Regions from separate parts of the Homo sapiens genome. Here region 1 is linked to region 2. The links are contacts of gene promoters, found by promoter capture Hi-C in blood cells and fetal thymus (Javierre and others, 2016). All regions are on one chromosome and are shown on one strand. The core of a region is centred on a gene start or on the middle of the fragment in contact, and the rest is flanking DNA. Distances in the headings are between cores, read along the strand shown. Region 1 has its middle 6.9 kb from the start of ZNF41. Region 2 holds the start of RP2 (RP2 activator of ARL3 GTPase).

Evidence for each region. The method cuts DNA at HindIII sites, captures the fragments that hold promoters and counts their contacts. A CHiCAGO score of 5 or more calls a contact.
Region 1: a contact is called between a fragment that was not itself captured here and the fragment with the promoter of RP2 in region 2, in 1 of 17 cell types (neutrophils). The highest score is 5.1, in neutrophils.

The regions. Positions count from the first base shown.
Region 1 is chrX:47,486,861-47,493,311 of GRCh38, reverse strand. No RefSeq gene overlaps it. Among named protein-coding and RNA genes, the nearest start is that of ZNF41, 6.9 kb to the right of the region's middle. The HindIII fragment of the contact is 2,076 bases long and covers 1,954-4,029 here.
Region 2 is chrX:46,832,471-46,839,155 of GRCh38, reverse strand. It overlaps RP2 (RP2 activator of ARL3 GTPase), which reads right to left and starts at 2,113. Exons shown (of 5, transcript NM_006915.3): 1 at 1,954-2,113. The coding sequence starts at 2,055. RefSeq lists an enhancer at 1,982-2,121 and a silencer at 2,432-2,511. The HindIII fragment of the contact is 11,862 bases long and covers 883-6,685 here.

The sequences.
Region 1 (6,451 bases), core at 1,742-4,241, 650 kb before region 2:
CTGCACCCCTTCCCCCATTCCTCACTCTATGCATCTCTTCCATCTGCTATTCATCTGCATCCTTTGTAATACCCTTGATAATAAATAGGTAAATGTAAGTAATGTTTCCCTAAATTCTAGGAGCTGCTCTAGCAAATTAATTGAACCCAAAGAGGGGGTCATTGATTTATAGCTGGTTGGTCAGACGTGTAGGTCACAACCTGGGACTTACAATTGGCATCTGAAGTGGGGGCAGTCTTGTGGTATTGAGCCCTCTAATGGCAGTATTTTCAGGTAGCGTCAGAATTGAATTGGAGGACACCCAGGTGGTATCCACTGGAGAATCTAATGTCAGAAGTGTTATGTTGGCTGTGTTAGGGTAAGAGAAACACTGTTTCGGCCAGGCGTGGTGGCTCATGCCTGTAATCCCAGCACTTTGGGAGGCCGAGGTGGGCAGATCACCCGAGGTCAAGAGTTCAAGACTAGCCTGGCCAACATGGTAAAACCCCGTCTCTACAAAAATACAAAAATTAGCCGGGCATGATGGCGGGTGCCTGTAATCCCAGCTACTCAGGAGGCTGAGGCAGGAGAATCGCTTGAACCCGGGAGGTGGAGGTTGTAGTGAGCCAAGATCACGCCACTGCACTCCAGCCTGGGAGACAGAGCAAGACCCCATCTCAAAAAACAAAAAAAAAAAGAAAAGAAAGAAAGACTGTTTTTTCCCTCTACCTCTATTAATACCATAAATATATACAATTTTTCTTTGTCAATTAAATAATAATAAAAACAAAACAAAACAAACATGAGAGGCTGGGTGCAGTGGCGAATGCCTATAATCCCAGCAATTTCAAAGGCCGAGGTGGGTGGACTGCTTGAGCCCAGGAGTTTGAGACCAGCCTGGGCAACACAGTGAAACCCCATCTCTACAAAAAAAATACAAAAAATTAGCCAGCTGTGATGGCATGCACCCGTTGTCTCAGCTACTCAGGAAGCTGAGGTGGGAGTATCACTTGAGCCTGGGGAGGATGAGGCTGCAGTGAGCTATGATCGCACCACTGCACTCCAGCCTGGGCAACAGAGCAAGACCATCTCAGAAAAAAAACAAAACAAAAAAAATTACATTTACTATTGCCCTATCTTGCTTAATTTTTGTTTCACTCCCAGTAGTTTCTTAGTGTGGTCTGCTGTCCTAGAAGACAGCCCTGGTATGTCATCATACAGTAAAGAATTAACTTAGGAGGTCTGGGTTGTTTAAACCTTGTGCATTCCAAGGAAAGGTTTGGCCCTTGCCCCAGCTCCTGGGATATAACCTGTAAGTCAGGGGTCCCCAACTGCCAGTCCACAGACCAGTATGAGTCCAAGGCCTGTTAGGAACTGGGCCGCACAGCAGGAGGTGAGAAGCAGGCAAGGGAGCGATACTGCTTGAGCTCCACCTCCTGTCAGATCAGTGGCAGCATTAGATTCTCATAGGAGCACAAACTCTATTGTGAACTGCGCATGCAAGGGATCTAGGTTGCACACTCCTTATGAGAATCTAACGCCTGGTGATCTGAGATGGAACAGTTTCATCCCAAAACCATCCCCCTCCACCCCGCTCCATGTCCATGGAAAGATTGTCTTCCACAAAACTGGTCCCTGGTGCCAAAAAGGTTGGGGACCACTGCTCTAAACCCTTGGAATATACTGCCTGTTAAGAAATCTTTGTTTACTTGAGTGCATGAGCCATGCCAGATAGCTGTGATTCTTGGTGAGTCTTGGGCTGTGCAGTATCAGCGTGAACCTTGGAAGGACTGAGTAAGGTCAACCACACAGGTAGTTGGCCATGCCTGAAACTGACTCCAAATAAAAACCACAGACACCGAGGCTAAAGTGAGAGCCCATGGTTGGTAATATTTCATGTATGTTACCCCACATCTTGCTAGGAGAATTAAGCACTGGCCGTATGACTACACCAAGAAGGGCGAACCCAAAGCTTGATCCTTGTTTCCCCTGGACTCTGCCCTATGTGCCCTTTTCCATTGCTGAATTCTGAGTCCTTCATAGTCAATCAGTGAACCTGAGGTTGGTCCTGGGAACCCCCCAAGCACAGTCCGTCTTAAGAGTTCATAGAAGGCTGGGCATGGTGGCTCATGCCTGTAATCCTGGCATTTTGGGAAGTTGAGGCAGGAGGATCACTTGAGCTCAGGAGTTCAAGACCAGCCTGGGCAACATAGCTAGACTTTGTCTCCACTAAAAATTTAAGAAATGAGCTCAGTGTGATGGCATGTGCCTGTAGTCTCAGCTATTCGGGAGGCTGCGGGGAGAGGATTGCTTGAGCCTGGGAGGTTGAGGCTTAGGTGAGCCAAGATCATGGCACTGCACTCCGGCCATGATCCAAGAAAAGAAAAGAAAAGAAAGAAAGAAAAAAGAGTTCCTAGGAATTATTATAGTCTGCTCCAACCCCTTCCAACCTTCCTGCAGACCCCTCTCACTCGTTGCTGAATTTTGCAAAATTCCTCCCAGTTTCAGCTGCTGAATTCAAGTTGGTCTGCCATGCCCATTGGCTGTTTTGGTATTGTGTTCTCAGGTCTGGCAAATACTGCTTACTTCCCCCTGCTTTTTCCTATACAGATAATTGTACCATGAAGTTGTTGTGGCTGTTGGTGACTTGGGCTTACTCATGTGTATTTTGATATTCATGGATATTTCAGCTATCTATTGCTGTGTAAGTAAACCACACCAAAACTTAGTGGATTAATAACTATTTTATTGCTCACGAATCTGGGCATGGCTCAGTGGGGATGGCTCGTTTCTTCTTCTTCTTCTTTTTTTTAAGAGGTGGGATCTTGTTCTGTTGACCATTGGAGTACAGTAGTGCGATCATAGCTCACTGCAGCCTCAAAATCCTGGGCACAGCAATCCTCCCACCTCAGCCTCCTGAGTAGCTGGGACTACCAGCATGTGCCACTGTGCCTGACTAATATATTTTAGTAGAGATGAGGTCTTGCTTTGCTACCCAGGCTGGTCTCAAACTCCTTGCTTCACTGCTTCAGATGATCTGCCTGCTTCGGCCTACCAAAGTGCTGGGATTACAGGTGTGAACCACCACGCCCAGACTTGTTTCTTCTCTATATGATGCCTGGAGAAGCTGGAATGGTACTGGAGGATGCAAGATAATTTCATGATACGACTGAGACCTCAGTGCTAGCTGCCAGCTGGGGCCTCAGTTATGTACATGGCCTATATTTAAGAGTCTCATGCTCTACCAACTGAGCTAGCTGGGTGGCTGCCACAGCGCTGCATGACCTATTTTTAAAAAGTGTCTCATCTTCCAGGACCTCTGTCTTCAGAAGGACAGCACAGACCTCTTTACAGGGTATCTTGATTCCCCTCTCACTAAAGCAAAAGTTCAATGTCTTTTAAGGTTGGGCTCAGAAGTCCCAGAATGCCATTTCTACCATACCTTATTGGTCAAATGGAACACAAGGCCAGCCCAGACACAAAGGATGAAAAAATAGGCACCATGTCTTGATGGGAGGGTGGCAAACACATACAGGGTTGGAAATACAGCTGGCAGCCCTATCTGCAGAAAATCTGCCACACTGGGGACACTGTGTCTACTGGCCTCACCGTAAATATTACCCATGGGTTTTGATTTTGTCATCTGGTTGCTCTGTCTGTATGCTGGCATAACAAGAGAGTGAAAACTACGCTGCTGTCATCATGCTTCCAGCGTCTCTTCTAATTAAAAAAAAAAAAAACTCAGAAAAAAAAAGATCTGTTCTTTTCTAAGAACAGAAATTTTGGGTGAGGGCAGAATGAAGAGGTAAAAACATTCTAAATGGTTCATTCTCCTGAGAAATTAGGAGTAAAGGCCAGTAACACACCTGTGTGTGTGTGTGTGTGTGTGTGTGTGTGTGTGTGTGTGCGCCCATGTGTGTGCTTAATCTACCAATAGAGAAAATGTGAATTATGCTTATAAGGAATGGAAAGATAATCATCAGAAGAATTGATAAGCAGAGTAGAACTTCCAAATTACTAAGGGAGGGAGAAGGGGAATAAACAGAAGCTTGAGAGAGCCAACAAATGTAAGAAAATTGAAAAGGTGGAAACAATAACAAAATCGAAAAAAGGAAACAAAGTCCGATGGAACACACAAAAACAGGCATATCACTGATAAACTGAATGGATTGGGTTCTCCTATAAGAGAGGGACTGTAACATTGGGTTATAAAACAAAAGTTATGTGTTATTTACTAGAAGCACTTTTTTTTTTTTGAGATGGAGTTTTGTTCTTGTTGCCCGGGCTGGAGTGCAATGGCGTGATCTCGGCTCACTGCAACCTCCGCCTCCTGGGTTCAAGCAATTCTCCTGCCTCAGCCTCCCAAATAGCTGGGATTACAGGCATCCGCCACCATGCCCGGCTAATTTTGTATTTTTAGTAGAGACAGGGTTTCTCTATGTTGGTCAGGCTGGTCTCGAACTCCTGACCTCAGGTGATCCACCCACCTCGGCCTCCCAAAGTGCTGGGATTACAGGCATGAGCCACCATGCCCAGCCTAGAAGCACATTTAAAATAAAGAGACTGGGGCTGGGTGTGGTGGCTCATGCCTGTAATCCCAGCACTCTGGGAGGCCGAGGCAGGTGAATCACCTGAGGTCAGGAGTTCGAGACTAGCCTGGCCAACATGGTGAAACCCTGTCTCTACTAGAAATACAAAAATGAGCTGGGCATGGTAGCAGGCACCTGTAATCCCAGCTACTTGGGAGGCTGAGGCAGGAGAATCACTTGAACCCAGGAGGCGGAGGTTGTAGTGAGCTGAGATCACGCCACTGCACTCTAGCCTGGGCAATAGAGTGAGACTCAGTCTAAAAATAACAATAATAATAAAATAAAGAGACTGGAGGGGCAGGGTGGCTCACGCCTGTAATCCCAGGACTTTGAGAGGCCAAGATGGGAGGATCACTTGAAGCTGGGAGTTTGAGACCAGACTGAGACCTCATCTCTATAAAAATAAAAATTAGCCTGGCATGGTGATGTATATCTGTAGTCCCAGCTTCTCAGGAGGCTGAGGCACGAGAATCACTTGAACCCGGGAGGTGGAGGCTGCAGTGAGCTGAGATGTCACCACTGCACTCCAGCCTGGGTGACAGAGCGAGACTCTGTCTCAAAAAAAAAAAAAAGAAAACTACTTAAAATGGACAACACTATTTTCCAAAATTTGCCAGAAAACTTTATACTAAACGGTAAAATGTTTAAATCATTTCCATGAACACTGGCAACAAGATAGGGATGTTTTCTATCACATCTATTACTCAACATTATTTTGAAGGATTTATCTCAGCATTGTCCAATACAACTGAGGCTCTATTTCAGCATTGTCCAATACAGCATTGTCCATCATTCTGCAATGATGGAAATGTTTCTATATTTAGCATCATCCAGTACAGTAGCCACTAGCCATATGTGGGTACTGAGCACTTGAAATGTGGCTAGGCAACTGAGAAACCGAATTTTAAGTTTTATTTAACTTAAATTTAAACAGCAGGCCAGGCGTGGTGGCTCATGCCTGTAATCCCAGCACTTTGGGAGGCCAAGGCAGGTGGATCCCTTGAGGTCAAGAGTCTGAGATCAGTCTGGGCAACATGGTGAAATCAAGTCTCTACAAATACAAAAATTAGCTGGGCGTGGTGGTACATGCCTGTAGTCCCAGCTACTTGGAGGGCTGAGGTGAGGGGATCACCTGAGCCTGGGAGGTAGAGGCTGCAGTGAGTAGAGATCGTGCCACTACACTCCAGCCTAGGTGACAGAGTGAGACCCTGTCTCAAAAAATAATAATAAAAAATAAAATAAATAGCCAATGAGCTTAGACGCTACCTTATTAGACAGCTAATACAGTGAAAAAAGAAGAAATATATCAAATGTCAGATAGGAAATATTATCTATATCTGATACAACTGTACAATTAGAAAACCTAGGAAAAAACTGTAATAAGAAGCTACCAGAATAGGTAGATAGTTTTGATAAGGAGTTGGATACAAGATAAAATTATCACCTGTAGTCCCAGCCATTAGGGAGGCTGAGGTGGGAGGATCACTTGAGTCCAGGAGTTTGACACCAGCCTGGGCAACATAGGGAGAACCTATCTCTACGGAAAAATTTAAAAATTAGCTGGGTCTGGTAGTGCACACCTGTAGTCCCAGCTACTTGGGAGGCTGAGGAAGGAGGATCATTTGAGCCTGGAAGGTTAAGGCTACAGTGAGCTGTGATCATGCCAGTGAACTTCAAGGCAAGATCCTATCTCAAAAAATAAAAATAAAAGAGAAAAGTACAAAAATAGGTTATTCCTATACTAGCAGTAACCAGATGGGACTAGCAAAAATAAGTCTTAATGACAACAAAAATATAAATATGCAAAAAATAAATTTAACCAAAAAAGATAAAAAGATGATGGATTTATAAGAAGAAAAATTATAAATATCATTGCAGCATAT
Region 2 (6,685 bases), core at 864-3,363:
TTGGGAAATGTGGTATCTGCATTGTCTCAAAATGTAAGCTGGTAATTCTCTTCAACAGTCCAAAATATTTTAAAACTGGGGTTTTTTTCAGAATGCTCATTTGGTTAGAAATTCTCATTTTGATTGGCTGAGTTGATCAAGATTTTAACTTTTATTATACACACACTCAGAAGCATGAGCTTATTTTATATATCCAATAACATCTCTTACAACTCTACAACTACAGAACTTAGTAGTGTTCTCAAAAAAAAAGGTTCTCTGTAAGCTCAAAACAGTTTCTACAATTGAAAGTTTATTACACACTCATTTGTGGGGAAAAAGCTTAGATGTTGGTGTCCAATGTTATATTTCTCAATGCATTTACTTAGCCAATGGGCAAAAGAAGAAAAAAAATCACAGGACACACACACTTATCTAAAAGAAGGATTAACATGAGAAGTCCTAACTAACCTGAATATTATGTTAATAAACATTAACTGTAAAACAATTTATTGTGAAACGATGAGTCATAGGCAGCCAAGACTACTATAAATAAAAAAGGCATTTTATTTAGTTTAGATTTAGCCTGAGTTCAAAAGAAAAAACTAAAATAAAAATGAAATATGCAACTTTCTCTAAGGCAGACAATTCAAGCTAAAAGAACATTGTTAGAAAGCCAAAGGCTGAGGAAAACAATATCTTTTAAAAACCGCCCATCAGATAACTTTAAATGGCAGGTGCAATCTTCTTGTGAAATAGAAAGCATAGTACTTTCTTCCCCTACATTATAAAATGCTACTATCGAGTATGACTAACAGAGAATAAAGGTACCATGTGACCCAAGAAGGGTGTGTATGAGAAGTAGGGGCAGAAAGACGGGGCTGAGAAAAGCTGCAAAAAGCTTTCAATTTCCTAACTCTGACTCTTAGAGACCAGAGCTTACCTGAATACATTCTGCTGGGGATTGGAAATCATGCAGAAAGGTCTGTGATTCCAAAACGTTAATACATTTATTATAAAGTAATCTTGGGTAAAGATATGTTGCCTTAAGCAAAGAGTTAACTGTTCATAATACCCATTTGAAAAATCTCTCATTTTGTTTGGGAGAAATAATTGATAAGTCCATCAAAGTAGTTTAGTAAGCACAAATGGAGAACTATGTAGAAAGAGGAACTATTATGAAATGTATGACCGAGTGTGTTTTGTGTAAGACTAATGGAGGTTTTCAAAGGTTTTTCGTTTCTGGCTATATACAAAAATAAAAATAAGGGCGTTTTCATTCATTTAAACCAGCAGTAAAATACTGCCTGGTTTATGCCGCTTATTTTCACCTTACAGTCTTAATACACATTCCAAGACTGATGCGATATTCATTATTTCTTTCGGATAACTGGAAGAGGAGGGGGAGTAAAGCTGTACATTAAACAGTCCACTTGGTAATTGAGAAAATTCAGCAGTGAAATATATCATGAGGCACCAAAGAGATTTGCCGGGGAGGGCAGACAAAAGAGAAAACAGCCACAGAACATTAAGCCCCGGAAGAGATGAGAATCGGTCCCATATACGTAACTCGACGACTGGACAAAACCCCGCTTGACGCTGCCGGTGGGTGAAACGAGGTGATTTGAGATTCAGGGCGTTCTCGGCTCTTTCCCTCTCTCGAATCGATCATCTCCAACAGGAAGTCAGAGCAAGGCAGGGTTCGGAGTCAGAGAAAGCTCCCGGGGGAGTCTGTCTACCACGACAACAAACTCCTAAGGCTCCTTCCGGAGCTCCACAGCCCTCTGGGCGGCCTCTCTAGCGCTGTACTTCACGTCCCCGCTCCCCAAAAAAGTCGTGCACCCCGACTTCAGCTATCCGCGTTCAAGAGAGTGCGGCAGCAGTTGGGTCGGCCCCCTCAGCGGTCCCGGGCCGTAAGGGACCTGGCGGAGCGGCTCAGGGAGGCTGAGACGGCGGCTACACGACTTTCATTACCTTCTCGCGCTGATCCCAGCTGTACTGCTTTGGCCGCTCCTCCTCGTTCTCGGGCCGCGACTCCTTGTCAGCCTTCCGTCTCTTGGAGAAGAAGCAGCCCATGGTCCCAGCCCGCGGAGCTCGTTGGCCAGCTCACTAGCTCAGGCACTTCCTAGAGTGTGGCGTGAACCCTGGGAACCCCGGCCTCGCAGCTCTCCGGACAACGCCCCGCGGAACCGCCCAACGGTCCGCAGCCTTAGTTTGCCCGCCAGGCCCAGCACCCCTTCCCCTTTTTCGTCGCCCTGACGACCCAGCGCAGCCAATGAACGCTCAGCGCCTGTTGAGCCAATCAAAGCCTCTCGAGCAATCCTGCGCGGCCTATGAAGAGAGGCCGACATACCCACATACCAATCCACGCCTGGCTCCTGCGACAGCCCCTGGCGGCGGGGCGGGCCGGCTCTGGCGCAAGCACGGACAACCCCGCCCACAGCTGTGGCACGGACCGCCCTCGGCCCCGCCCCTCCTGGAACTTGGTGGGTTCTCTAGCTGGTGGGAGGCCAGGCTCGGTATCCGGGTTTTTTTTGCCCCTGATTCATAAATTTGCAAGTTCAAGGCGCGGGAGAGATCTCTAGTTGAACATTAGATTTATCTTATGATGAAAGTTGTGAGGGACAGAAATTCCCGCTGACACAAGAAGACCCTGAAATTTGTATTTCTAAATCCTCTTCTCCCCTCATCACCCTTCCTACCGCCCTCTCATCGCCTGGCCAGGGTCACCCCCTCAAGAATTGTACCCCATAACCTCCCAATCCTCTTCTGTGCTCTTTCTTTCTTTCTTTCTTTCTTTCTTTCTTTCTTTCTTTCTTTCTTTCTTTCTTTCTTTCTTTTTCTTTCACAGGGTCTCGCTATGTCACTCAGGCTGCAGTGGCACAATCATAACTCACTGCAACCTTGCAACTTTGCAACCTTGACTTCCTGGGCTCAAGCGATCCTCCTGCCTCAGCCTCCTTCCTGAGTAGCTGGAACTACAAGCAAGCACCACCATGCCCACCTATTTTTTTTTTTTTTTACTTTTGTAGAAATGGGGTCTTGCTATGTCGCCCAGGCTGGTCTTGAACTCCTGGGCCCAAGCGATCATCCTGCCTCAGCCTCTCAAGGTGCTGGGATTACAGGCAGGACCCACCGCACCCCAGGCTGCTTCTGTGTTTTCTTAAGACTTTCACATATGGCTCTAAAATTGCACAAGTACTTAGTAAAATAGTTAATTGTGTATTGTTTCCCTATTTGAACTGTGACTTTCTTGAGATCAAAAAGGTATATCTTTTTTTTTTTTTTTTTTTTTTGATGGAGTTTTTGCTCTTGTCGCCCAGGCTGGAGTGCAGCAGTGCCATCTCGGCTCACTGCAACCTCCGCCTCCCGGGTTCAAGTGATTATCCTGCCTCAGCCTCCAGAGTAGCTGGGACTGCAGGCGCCTGCCACTACGCCCGGCTAATTTTTGTATTTTTAGTAGAGACGGGGTTTCACCATGTTGGGCAGGCTGGTCTCGATCTCCTGACCTCAGGTGATCTGCCCGCCTCGGCCTCCCAAAGTGCTGGGATGACAGGCATGAGCCACCGCGCCTGGCCTAAAAGGTATGTCATAAAGGGCATGCAGGGCCGGGCGCGGTGGCTCACGGCTGTCATCCCAGCACTTTGGGAGGCCGAGGCGGTAGGATCATGAGGTCAGGAGATCGAGACCATCCTGCTCAACACAGTGAAACCCCGTCTGGTGAAACCCCGTCTCTACTAAAAATACAAAAATTAGCCGGGCGTAGTGGCGTGTGCCTGTAGTCCCAGCTACTCGGGAGGCTGAGGCAGGAGAATTGCTTGAACCCAGGAGGTGGAGGTTGCAGTGAGCCAAGATGGCGCCGCTGCACTCCAGCCTGGGCGACAGAGGGAGACTCTGTCTAAAAAAAAAAAAAAAAAAAAAAACCAGAGCCGGGGGGGGCGGGCACGGTGGCTCACGCCTGTAATCCCAGCACTTTGGGAAGCCAAGGCGGGCGGATCACAAGGTCAGGAGTTCGAGACCAGCCTGGCCAATATGGTGAAACCTCATCTCTACTAAAAATACAAAAATTAACCGGGCATGGTGGCGGGCGCCTGTAGTCCCACCTACTCGGGAGGCTGAGGCAGGAGAATAGCTTGAACCCAGAAGGCGGAGGTTGCAGTGAGCCGAGATGGCGCCACTCCACTCCAGCCTGGGCGACAGAGCAAGACTCCGTCTCAAAAAAAAAAAAAAAAAAAGGCAGTGGGGAGGAAAGCTGAGGGGAGGGATGTACCTTTGAATCTCCTACACCTGGCCCAAGTCCATACTAGGTGCTCAATACAACGTTTGTCAAATGAATGAATGCATGCATGGGTGCTAGTGAAGGAAGCATTTATAAACTTCCCCCATCCCTTCCCAAAGAAAGTGACCAAACTGTGGGGGTGGGAGGCATGTGGATTTATGGTAAAGGGGTTCTCCTCATGGAGTTTATAGCCTCGTTGAGGACATAAGCATTGCATATGAACGATCAGATCTGTTCTAAGCAAATGGCATAGGGTTCGTCAGAATATATTTAAAGATATATACACTAAATATAAACATTTGTTATACTTGGGTCGAATTTTACTGCAATACACATGCATTGCCTATGTAATAGAAAAGAAAGGTAAGTCAGTTTCTCTGAGAAACAGTATTTTGACATCTCAGTAGGATATCAAATGCTGATCACTTCAGGTTCAAATTTGGTTATCTTTTAAATTTCCCATACTTATTCACATCTAGTTTGTATCCTAAATGAGCCTCTGACTTTTTTTTTTTTTTTTTTTTTTGAGACAGAGTCTCGCTTTATCACCCAGGCTGGAGTGCAATGACATGATCTCAGCTCACTGCAACCTCCACCTCCCAGGTTCAAGCAATTCTCCTGCCTCAGCCTCCCGAGTAGCTGGGGCTACAGGCGCACAAAACCACACCTGGCTAATTTTTGTATTTTTAGTAGAGACGGGGTTTCACCATGTTGGCCAGGCTGGTCTCGATCTCCTGACCTCAGGTGATCCACCCACCTCGGCCTCCCAAAATGTTGGGATTACAGGCGTGAGCTACAGTGCCCGGCCGACTTAATTTGAACATAAAGAATGTTCCCCTTTTTACTTCCCGTCCTTTATTGCACAATCGGGAAGAAAAGTACATGTGCTTAAGTATTAGAAATTACTGCAAATTTAAGTTCCAGATCTTAGGCAATAGAGTCTTTACCCAGTGCACACTTTTTCTCCTTCAGAGTGAGATGAAAGTTTTATGTGAAGATGTTTTTGGATAAGACCCTCATTCGATATTTTATAATCTATTATTATATTTATAATCTATGGTCTATGATTATAAAACATCTGTGACCAGATATAAATATATAACTATGACCACTACTTAGTGTAGCAGAGGAGGCAGAGATCCAGAGAGGTGAAGGGATGAATCTGTGGTCACGATGAGAGTGGCTGAGCAGGGACTGGAAAAATCCACATCCTGTGTTTCCCAGTGCCTCCTCCTGCCTTAAGTTTGTTCCTCTCTAATTCATCTGAAATAAGTATCTGCCTCGGCCTTCTGATGCCTATGGGAGCTCTGTCCCACAGTGATGCTATTCCTCTTAATGAACAAACAATATAACAAAACTAATTCTAGAGAAACAACCTCTGAAACTCTCACTGTTTTGAAGTATTCATTAATGAGAAAAGCTCAAATCTACAATAAAACCTATATCCAAGAGTGATCTTTTCAGGGACCCTTAAAAGTGAAGATAAAGTCCCTTTTCTGTTCATTCCCATCCTACCATCACTCTTGACCAAAAACAAAATTACAAAAAGAAAATTAAATCAAATGTTAAGAACTGGGGACTAGAAAGCTAATGAACAGAGCTAATACTAGTGCTGTCTCATCCTTTTTCTTTCTCTCTTATTCTTTCTTTCTTTTCTGCCCCATCTCTTTTTCACCTGTCCCCATGAATTCTCATCACTACTTATTTTTGCAAACCAGCTCTCTACTTACTCATCAGCATTTACATGGTTGACAACAGCTATCCCACCCTGATTCCTCATGGCCTTTCTGTCCAAGGGCATGCTACAGTCTCAGACTCTCAAGGGAGATAATCATATACATTGCTGGCCAGTCAATAACAGATTGGCTCTAGGTTGGTATGCACCCCTGGTCCCATTGCTGCAGCTGCAGGGGCGAATTCCAAACATGGGTGTTACAGATATGGGTGGGAAGCAGGTCCTGAAAAGGGAACGCTAACTCTGAAGAGTTCAGGCAGAAGTTGGTTGCTTGTTCTGCTTGTGCTCCTCCTGCTATTTATATTCTAGTGATTTCTTTTCTATAGAAGGCTGCCCTTCCTGTTCAGCTTGATGTATCTATTCATCTATATTAAAATGTTGAGTTGTGGGTTTACACCTGGCCACAAGCTCCAGAGATGGCTCTGGGTCCCCTGAGTCTTGACCACAGAAGTGATATAGTTACTTCTCAGAAGACAGTCCTGGCCGGGCACGGTGGCTCACACCTGTAATCCCAGCACTTTGGGAGGCCGAGGCAGGTGGATCACTTGAGGTCAGGAGTTTGAGACCAGCTTGGTCAACATGGTGAAAATACTAAACATACTAAAAATGCAAAAATTAGCCAGGCGTGGTGGTGCGCCCCTGTAATCCCGGCTACTCAGAAGGCTGAGGTGGGAGAATTGCTTGAACCCGGG